Linked DNA regions of Homo sapiens: region 2 is linked to region 1. Evidence: promoter capture Hi-C in human tissues and cell types (Jung and others, 2019). All regions are on one chromosome and are shown on one strand. The core of a region is centred on a gene start or on the middle of the fragment in contact, and the rest is flanking DNA. Distances in the headings are between cores, read along the strand shown. Region 1 holds the start of GRXCR2 (glutaredoxin and cysteine rich domain containing 2). Region 2 overlaps SH3RF2 (SH3 domain containing ring finger 2).

Region 1 (4,732 bases), core at 815-3,314:
AGTCCTAGCTACCAGAGAGGCTGAGGCAGGAGGATCCCTTGAGCCCAGGAGTTTGAGATTGCTGTGAGTTATGATCATACCACTGCACTCCAGCCTGGTTGACAGATGAGACCCTGTCTCTAAAAAAGAAAAAAAAAATTATACATTTTCATAAATGCTAAATTTAGCACATGACTTATGAAGATCAAGCAACCCAAAATTTATCTACTGTGGCCTTGCATAAGGTTTGCATGAACTGTGACTTTGTAAATTCTAAATCTACAAATAAGACATAGTTAAAAAGAAATAGTATAAGTACAAGACTAGCCAAGTGCCTAGGACCTAATAAGCACTCAACAAATGGTAGCTATTATTATTATGTAATAATATGGTTCTCTAAAAAAAGGAACATGCCCTAAAGCAAAACATTTGTAGCATCAGAAGATCTGGATTCTTATTCTGACTCTGTACCCAATGACCCTGTAGTATCAGATGGATCCCTTAACAACTTGGCACTCAATTTTTCTCTTCTGCAAAATGGGAATGACCATACTTTGGCCTTTCTCCCCAAGGTTATAGTAAAGACCCAATGCCATAGATATAGACAGAGATAGTACATGATGACACTTTGTACTGCATACGTCACCCCATTAAGATAAGAGGTCATTCATTTCAGCCCCTTTTAATATCAAAAACAAGCCTAGTGTTATCTTCGGTAATTGTGAACATGCCCATAATTATACTTTTACCAATGCCAGTAAAGCCAGTAATACATTTGTCTGCAATAGATGTGTTATCTATTCCCTTAGGAAACTAACAATAAAAATAATTCAAGAGTAATTATCTGGCTTTCACACTTTAAAGATGAGAACACATCCTGGTGTGCTATTCATTAATAACGTGGATACATTATATAATTGTATTTTATCTTTTTTAAGAAGTCATTCATGGTCCCACTGACAGCATATATACATCTCCTATGAATTTTTGGATACCAGTGTATGTTTTCCAGGTTCTACCTTAAAAGAAAATCATGTATGGACTTTTGATTATCCATGGTACTGGGAAGTAATTGAAATTCATAGATTAAACACATTCTTCAATCGAACCATTAGCTCAAACTTCTTCCTCACATAACATATCCTCTGGCTGATTTGCGTTTCACCATCCCTTCCCAGGACTCCAACTACCCAGAGCTTATGCTAAGGAGCAATGGAAAGGAAAAATAAATAGACAAAGCAGGCAGTATGAGGAAGGCAATAGGGGTAAAAAACAAGACATGGATAAACTGCAAGCTGAGTAATTGGCTGGAGTAAAATGAGCACTTTCAAATACTCAGCTCTTTCAGGAAACAAAATGACTGCATAATTGTCTAAAACCGCAGTCTGACAACCTGAAAACCACTGCACCTCTATTTAATTTACATTCCAGGAAAACTCAGTCAAAGATCCAATTACAATGTATTACCTTGGATGGAATTTGAATACTATATATGCTCATTGCACTTTCCAATTAGTAGTCAACAAGCATGTTATTTTTACCCCAGAAATATTCGTCTAATAACAACTTCCCATTTGGTGCACCAACAGTTCTGGTTGGTACCGGAGGGGGAGCAAGACACAAATCTGAACCATTTAGGAGTTTCTCTAAACACGTTTTAGGAAGCCCTACCCTTAAAGCCTATATGCCATGCACAATACCAACCTTATGGTCATTCGCCTTGTAATCGTTGAACCGAGGCTGGCCGCCTGCCAAGGTGTAGGCATTACCCTCTCTAAACACACTGATCCTCTGAGCAGTCAGCTTAGGGGAGCACATCTGGGGCCTGGGGACTTCCCCAGACCCATAAACACCATCCATTGTTTCAAGAGACTCTTGCAGAAAACTGTGAGGGTATTCCTCCTTTGGTGACTCTAATTCCTGCCCATCCTCAAAGACCTGCTTCAATACTCGACCGCTGTAGGAGGAGGAGATTTTAAATCGTACTTTCCGGGGTTTGCCATCACTCTTCTGATTCAGCTTTTTCTCAGGGTCCTCCATCAGCAGAAAGTTGACCCTGTGGTCTCCAGCCTTCCGTGCAGCCGGTGAAACTTGGGCCTCTGAGAAAAAGGCATTTTATTTTCTCTCCTCCTGCATATAATTAATTCAAGTTGTTGCTGGGGTATGGTCAGTTTACAGCAACTGACACCCATACATTAAATATTGATAGACCCTCATGAAAAGGCAGGTGATTCTGGTTTGATGGAGTGGATGGAATATAAGACAAGATTGATTCTTCTCATAATCCCAAGCTCACCATGACTTCACCCCAACCCTAACCTTTCTTAACCTGAGGATGAAGAAGTTTATTTAGACTGAACATGTGCCAATTCAATAAGGATCAGACACTCAATTAGTTAACAAGTGTCTTCTTATTGTTAGCAATGACAATTAAAATCTAGTGAGCATTTCATAAGTACCAGAGATTGTTACATGCATTATTTTATTTCATCCTCACGATAACCCTACAAAGAAAATCTTACCTTTGTTTTACACAGGGGAAAGTGAGGCTTAGAGCCACTTGTCATTTATCTTCATCATTTGTCTGCTCTATTACACCTAAGTAAGTGACAGAGCAGGGATTTGAACCCAGATCTATCTGACTCCAAAACCCAAGATCAGCCCACACAACCAGAAGTTTTCCAGTTCTGGTTCTAGAAGAGGGAATGACGTCCTAGATACAGTGGAGGTTCTTGGAGGCTGCTGCTAAGAACAGGAGAAGGCCGAGGGTCCTGGATTCTGGGCCTTCTCCCCCTACGCTAACCAGAGCACCTCCACTTGGTATGTATTTTACATTTAAGATTTCATTTGCAATCACAGCACAAGTCCCCATTGCCTGTTGGACTTCGTAAATGCCTGACACTGAACTAGTGGCTGGAGTGAATAGCACAGAAGCATGTGACCTGGGCCTGAGAACAGTCCTACAATCCCATACAGACCTCACACAGGTGAAATAATAACCTCATGCTTAGAGAGCAAACTGCCCACAGCTGAATCCCAGAATAGCCACTCTGGGAAGGAAGTGGTCTCTAAGGAGACAAGGATGGAAGAAGGTTTGTAAAGAAAAGGGCCCTTGGGCTGGGTAGAAAATGGTAGGTTGGATGTGAGGAGCTGAAAGTGGAGTAAAGCCTTTCTCCCTGTCTTTGCTACCAGCATCACCATTTACTGAGTTACCCAAATTGACCCCTCCTATTCCCCTACAGCCATTCGCTTGGATTCTTTTTTTTTATTATTTTATTTTATTTTTTTTTTTTTGAGACGGAGTCTCACTCTGTTGCCAGGCTGGAGTGCAGTGGTACGATCTCGGCTCACTGCAACCTCCACCTCCTGAGTTCGAGCAATTCTCATGCCTCAGCCTCCCGAGTAGCTGGGACTACAGGCACACGCCACCATGCCCAGCTAATTTTTGTATTTTTAGTAGAGATGGAGTTTCACCATGTTGGCCAGGATGGTCTCAATCTCTTGACCTCGTGATCCGCCTGCCTTGACCTCCCAAAGTGCTGGGACTACAGGCATGAGCCACCGCACCCAGCCCATTCACATGGATTCTTTCACCACTGCCTTCTTTCATCTACCCCTATCACCCTGGCCCTAGGGCAAACCCTCATCACTTTGATTTTTAAAGTTGCAGCTGTCTCCCAAGGACTTCCCTACTCACCCCCAATTCCATTCTCCATATTGATGTGAGAGCAATAGTCCAAAACAACAAATCCACAGGTGTCAGTCTCTTGCTGAAAAATCTTTTCTAGTGCATCAGGGCTTAAGTCTTAACTGTTCCATGTGACAAGCAAAGCCCCTCAAAAACCAGCCTCACCTTCCTTCCTTTCCAGCCTTGCCCTCTGTCACTCTTCCAGGGGCTGCCTGGGATTGGTGTTCCAGTTACACCAACAAGCTTACCCATTTCTCAAACCCACAAGTTTCTGTCTCTTATCCAGTACTCTGTCTCCTGATTTAGAGTGTCAAATTTCCATTCCTCCTTCAAGTCACACCTCAAATGTCACTGCTTCTGGGCAGCCTTCCCACCTTCCCCAGGGAGAGTGCCATGGGACTTTCGGACCTACCGCCATTCAGATGCTTCTCACTTTCCCTTGCCCTTCCTATTTTTCCCTCCATTCAACTGTGAACATCTTGCAGTCAGAAGTTGTCCTTACTATCTGTCTATTCCCAGTGTTTATCAAAGTGCCCAGTACATAATAGAACTCAGTAATTGTTAAATGAATGACTTCAAGTGAGAGAAACCAAATACACAAAGCTTTTCAAAAAGGAATTGAGCATATTTTGTATAGAATAGTGAAGAGGTGGCTGGGCGCGGTGGCTCACGCCTGTAATCCCAGCACTTTGGAAGGGCCGAGGCAGGTGGATCACGAGGTCAAGAGATTAAGACCATCCTGGCCAACATAGTGAAACCTCATCTCTACCAAAAATACAAAAATTAGCAGGGTGTGGTGGCAGGCACTTATAGTCCCAGCTACTCGGGAGGCTAGAGCAGGAGAATCACTTGAAGCCAGGAGGCAGAGGTTGCAGTGAGCCAGGATTGCACCACTGCACTCCAGCCTGGTGACAGAGCGAGACTCCATCAAAAAAAAATAAATAAAGAATAGTGAAGAGGTAGGATCAGAAGATTTTTTTTTTAATCTACCTTTCTACTAAGGAGAGGTGTCACAGTTGTAAATTCCCTGTGTAACTGGTACAGAAATAGGTGGGAGAGAAGAAC
Region 2 (4,732 bases), core at 1,408-3,907, 81 kb after region 1:
CGGGAGTACTTTGGGCAAGCTACCCATGTAGACTGACTCTAAGCACACATTCTTGACTGTCACTTATGCTGGCTCATCTTGCAGCACAGTAGCTCTGCCTCCCTCATGCAAGGAGTATGCATAGCACATATCTTTTTTGTTTATTAACATGGCATTAGTAAATTTCTCCCAAGTCATGTTACCAGTTTACATCTTGGTTCTCTGAAACTACATAGTACCAGCCACATACGTAGGGACTCAGTGAGTCTTCTAATTCCTTTGCATTCTAAAATCTCGCATCTGCAAGACATCTTGAAGGTCCTCCAAGCCACCCCTCCTATGCTTCAGTCCTCTCACTGACTTCCCACTGAGAGGCCCACACAACCAGTCCATTTGAATTTCCAGTTTGGGGAAGTTTTCTGTGTCTGAGGCACATACTATTTCCTCCACCTCTGAACAGCAATATTAGAAAAGTCTCCCTGAAATTAAGCCACATGAAACACATCTGCCCACTCTTCCATGGGCATCTGCCACTCTTTGAAGGCAACTCAGGAGGGTTGCATCTTATTTTAACACCTTATTTTCAGTCTTATTTTCTCCGGGCTGGACTACCTCGCTTAGTTCTCCTATTGAACTGGTTTTAAGTATTCCTAACCTGGGGGACAAGATAGAGCACTAGGTAAGAACAGGGGCTCTGAAGTTATAATAGCTAGTTTCAAATCTCAGTTCTACCTTTTGATAGCTGTATGACTTTGGATAAGTCAACCTCCCTGAGCCCCAATCTCTTAATCAAGAATGGGAATAATTTGTAACCTACCACCTACATTGGTTCTGAGATTAACAAATACACTTGAGGACTGGCCCATAAATGCACTTAGCACATGTTAATTATTTTTGCTATTATTTAATATTATTATTGCCACTCTCTCTGCATAAGTATCCATCTTATTCCACTGAGGGTCCCTGGTCCAGGGTTCAGTTGCTCTCTTTAAACCACCTGTAAATAAGCATAATGGGGTTTTGTTGCCTAAAACATCTCTAAAGTATCCACATGCTGGGGTTTCAGGTCATACCAGGAAGAATTGCCACAATCCTAGAGAATCTTTCTTGGGATTCCTTCTCATAAAGAGCCTCTAACCATAACAAACCTTGCTAAAACAATATCTTAATAGTAGTGCTACTTTTAACAGCACTATAGAAAAAAAAACAACTTTTGTTCCTCTAAGTTCTGCCGGGCACATCTCACATTCTGTGGGGGATATGGTAAGCTACTGGTGTAACACAACTCAGTGAAAGGAAGAAATTCTACATTTCAATAATAATAACCACTAATATTCACTGACTACACAAATGTATATTGAGTGCTCACTATGTGTCAGACACTAAACTAAGCTCTAGGATATAACCATGAACAAGACAGACGTGTAATGTATACTCTAATGGGATAGATAAAAGGAACAAAAATGTTTATAATCTTAGCTGGGTTCCCCTCAGAAGCAGATCCTGAGATGAGGATTGAATGCTTATAGATTATCTGGGAGGCGTAAGGACATTGGCAGGGGAGTGATGGCATCATATAGGGAAGAGAGGGCGGCCAAGAAAGCTGTGTTATGAGGCCAGCTACTGCAGTGGGCAGTAAAGCTTAATCTTTTGAGGAAACTCTGGGAAACAGTATAAAACCCAGACCTTAGAACTGTGCTGGCCAAGAGATGAGAGATCTGGGTTATTTATACCCTCATACCTGTCATTGGTTAAGAGCTGCCCCCAAAGGCAAAGTACATTCTAGAATCTCAATAGAAGGCATTCAACAAAATCATAGGTGCCAGCTATTGGAAGTGAAGCTGAATTGCACAGAAATGGTAAAGGCTCTGAAGAAATATAGGCAGAACACCAACAGTCTCTCTCTCTCTCTCTCTGTCACACACACACACACACACACACAAATAATAAAAATAATTGCAAATTGCAATGTGTCTGCTATATAAACTAAATATAGACAAGGGTATGAAATGGAGGATAAAAGGAAAGATATTTTATTAGGGTGGTCAAAAAAAGACCTCTCTAAGGGAGGCATTTATGCTGATACCTGAAGGATGAGAGGAAGGCAGGGAAGTGGGTTCCAATGAGGGAGAACATCCTGACCCTGTTCTCAAAGAGTGGAGAGGACTTGGCAAGATCTGAGTTCTGGAAACTGAGAGAAAACCCACGTGGCTGAGGGGTGGTAAGCACTGAGGCGAGTGGCATGAGATAAGCTGCAGGGGAAGATGCAGAGGGACAAAGAAACCATGGTAATTGTGTTAGGCCATTCTTGCATTGCTATAAATACCTGAGACTGGGTAATTTATTTACTTGTTTAACTTTTATTTTAGGTTCAGGGGTACATGTGAAGGTTTGTTATACAGGTAAGCACATGTCACAGGGGTTTGTTGTACAGGTTATTTCATCACCCAGGAATTAAGCCTAGTACCCAAAAGTTACTTTTTCTGCTCCTCTCCCTCCTCCTATCCTCCACCTTCGAGTAGACCCCAGTGTCTTTTGTTCCCTTCTTTGTGTCCATGTGTTCTCATCATTTAGCTCCCACTTAAAAGTGAGAACATGCCGTATTTGGTTTATTGTTCCTGCATTAGTTTGCTAAGGACAATGGCCTTCAGCTCCATCCATGTTCCCTCAAAAGACACGATCTCATTCTTTTTATGGTTGCATAGTATTTCACGGTGTATATATATCACATTTTCTTTATCCAATCTGTCATTGATGGGCATTTAGATTGATTCTATGCCTTTGCTATTGTGAACAGTGCTGCAATGAACATTCATGTGCATGTGTCTTTGTGGTAGATGCTTTATATTTCTCTGGGTATATACCCAGTAATGGGATTACTGAGTGGAATGGTACTTCTGCTTTTAGCTCTTTGAGGAATCGCCATATGGCTTTCCACAATGGTTGAACTCATTTACACTCCCACCAACAGTGTATAAGGATTCCCTTTTCTCCGCAACCTCGCAAGCATCTGTTATTTTTTGACTTTTTGATAATAGCTCTTCTGACTAGTGTGAGATGGTATCTCACTGTGGTTTTGATTTGCATTTCTCTAATGATCAGCGATATTGAGCTTTTTTTATATGCTTGTTGGATGCATTATGTCATCTTTTGAAAAGTGTCTGTTCATGTTCCTTGCCCACTTTTTAATAGGGTTGTTTGTTTTTCTCTTATAAATTTAAGTTCCTTATAGATGCCAAATATTAGACCTTTGTCAGATGCATAGTTTGCAAATATTTTCTCCCATTCTGTAGGTTGTCTGTTTACTCTGTTGACAGTTTCCTTTGCAGTGCAGAAGCTCTTAAGTTTAATTAGATTCCATTTGTCAATTTTTGCTTTTGTTGCAATTGCTTTTAGTGTCTTTGTCATGAAATCTTTGCCCGTTCCTATGTTCCAGGATGCTATTACCTAGGTTGTCTTCCAGGATTTTTATAGTTTGGGATTTTACATTTAGAGAATGGATAATTTATAAGAAAAGAGGTTTAATTGGCTCATGGTTCTGCAGGCTGTCCAGGCAGCATAGCTCCAACATCAGCTTTGGGGAGACCTCAGGAAGCTTACAATCATGGCAGAAGGCAAAGTAGGAACAGACATGTCACATAGTGAAAGCAGGAGCAAGGAGCGAGAGAGAGAGAGAGAGGGAGAGAGTGGAGAGGAGAGGGTCGGGGAGTTGCCACACACTTTTAAATGACCAGAGGTGGGGGGAAGTGCCACACACTTTTAAATGATTGGATCTCATGAGGACAGCACCAAGGGATGGTGCAAACCATTCATAAGAAATCCACCCCCATGATCCAATCGCCTCCCACTAGGTCCCACCTCCAGTACTGGTGATTATGATTCAACATTAGATGTGGGTGGGGACAAATATACAAACTATATCAGTAACGAAGGGGGTTGGGTACTAGATGTAATGAGAAAGATTAAAGCAGGGAATAACCTGATCTGATTTTCAGTTCAAAAACTGACCTGATTTTCAGTTGGGGAACAAAATCATGTCCTTTGCAGTAACATAGATGCAGCTGGAGGCCATCATCCTAAGTGAATTATTCCAGGAACCGAAAACCAAATACTGCACGTTCTCACCTGTAAGTGGGAGCTAAACATTGGGTACTCATGGTCATAAAGATGGCAACAATAGACACTGGGGACTACTAGGTGGGGAAGGAAAAGAGGGGGATAAGGATTGAAAAACTATCTATTGGGTACTATGCTCAGTACCTGGGTGACAGGATCATTCGCGCCCTAAACCTCAGCATCCCACAATATACTCAGGTAACAAACCTGCACATGGACAGGAATCTAAAATAAAAGTTGAAGAGAAAAAGGAAGATCAGGGTATTAGAAAGGTGGGAAGAACATAAAATGAGCTTCCAGTACCAAAACTTGTCAGAGAAGTAGAGCAAAATTTTCCCACTCTCCCTGTCTTTGTCCTGTCGGAAGGGCATTAAGGATTGAGGTACCTGACCATGCAGAGCTATGTTTTATCTACCATAGATGAACATAAGCATATATGGTCAGCCATACATGTCTATAATTCAATGTCATATAAAATGTTACTTTGTGTGATCATATCATATAGTCTAAAAGAAGAGAATTGGAAAGAAACACAGGGTAGGTTTAGTTATGGGGAGATCAAGGAAGCTGTAGTCTGATAAAAAGGCCATTCAAACTTTATAACTTGGAATAAAGTTTATCTTTGGGAGACAGGATA

What was found. Contacts are between HindIII fragments. The study calls those that stand out against the background at their distance.
Region 2: a contact is called between a fragment that was not itself captured here and the fragment with the promoter of GRXCR2 in region 1, in 2 of the 25 tissues and cell types used here (H1 embryonic stem cells and pancreas).

What each region holds. Positions count from the first base shown.
Region 1 is chr5:145,870,950-145,875,681 of GRCh38, forward strand. GRXCR2 (glutaredoxin and cysteine rich domain containing 2) reads right to left here and starts at 2,065. Exons shown (of 3, transcript NM_001080516.2): 1 at 1,684-2,065. The coding sequence starts at 2,019. The HindIII fragment of the contact is 8,071 bases long and covers 1-4,090 here.
Region 2 is chr5:145,951,228-145,955,959 of GRCh38, forward strand. The region is part of intron 2 of SH3RF2 (SH3 domain containing ring finger 2); the gene reads left to right. The region is part of intron 3 of LOC107986458 (a long non-coding RNA gene); the gene reads right to left. Among named protein-coding and RNA genes, the nearest start is that of SH3RF2, 17 kb to the left of the region's middle. RefSeq lists a silencer at 1-135. The HindIII fragment of the contact is 3,739 bases long and covers 789-4,527 here.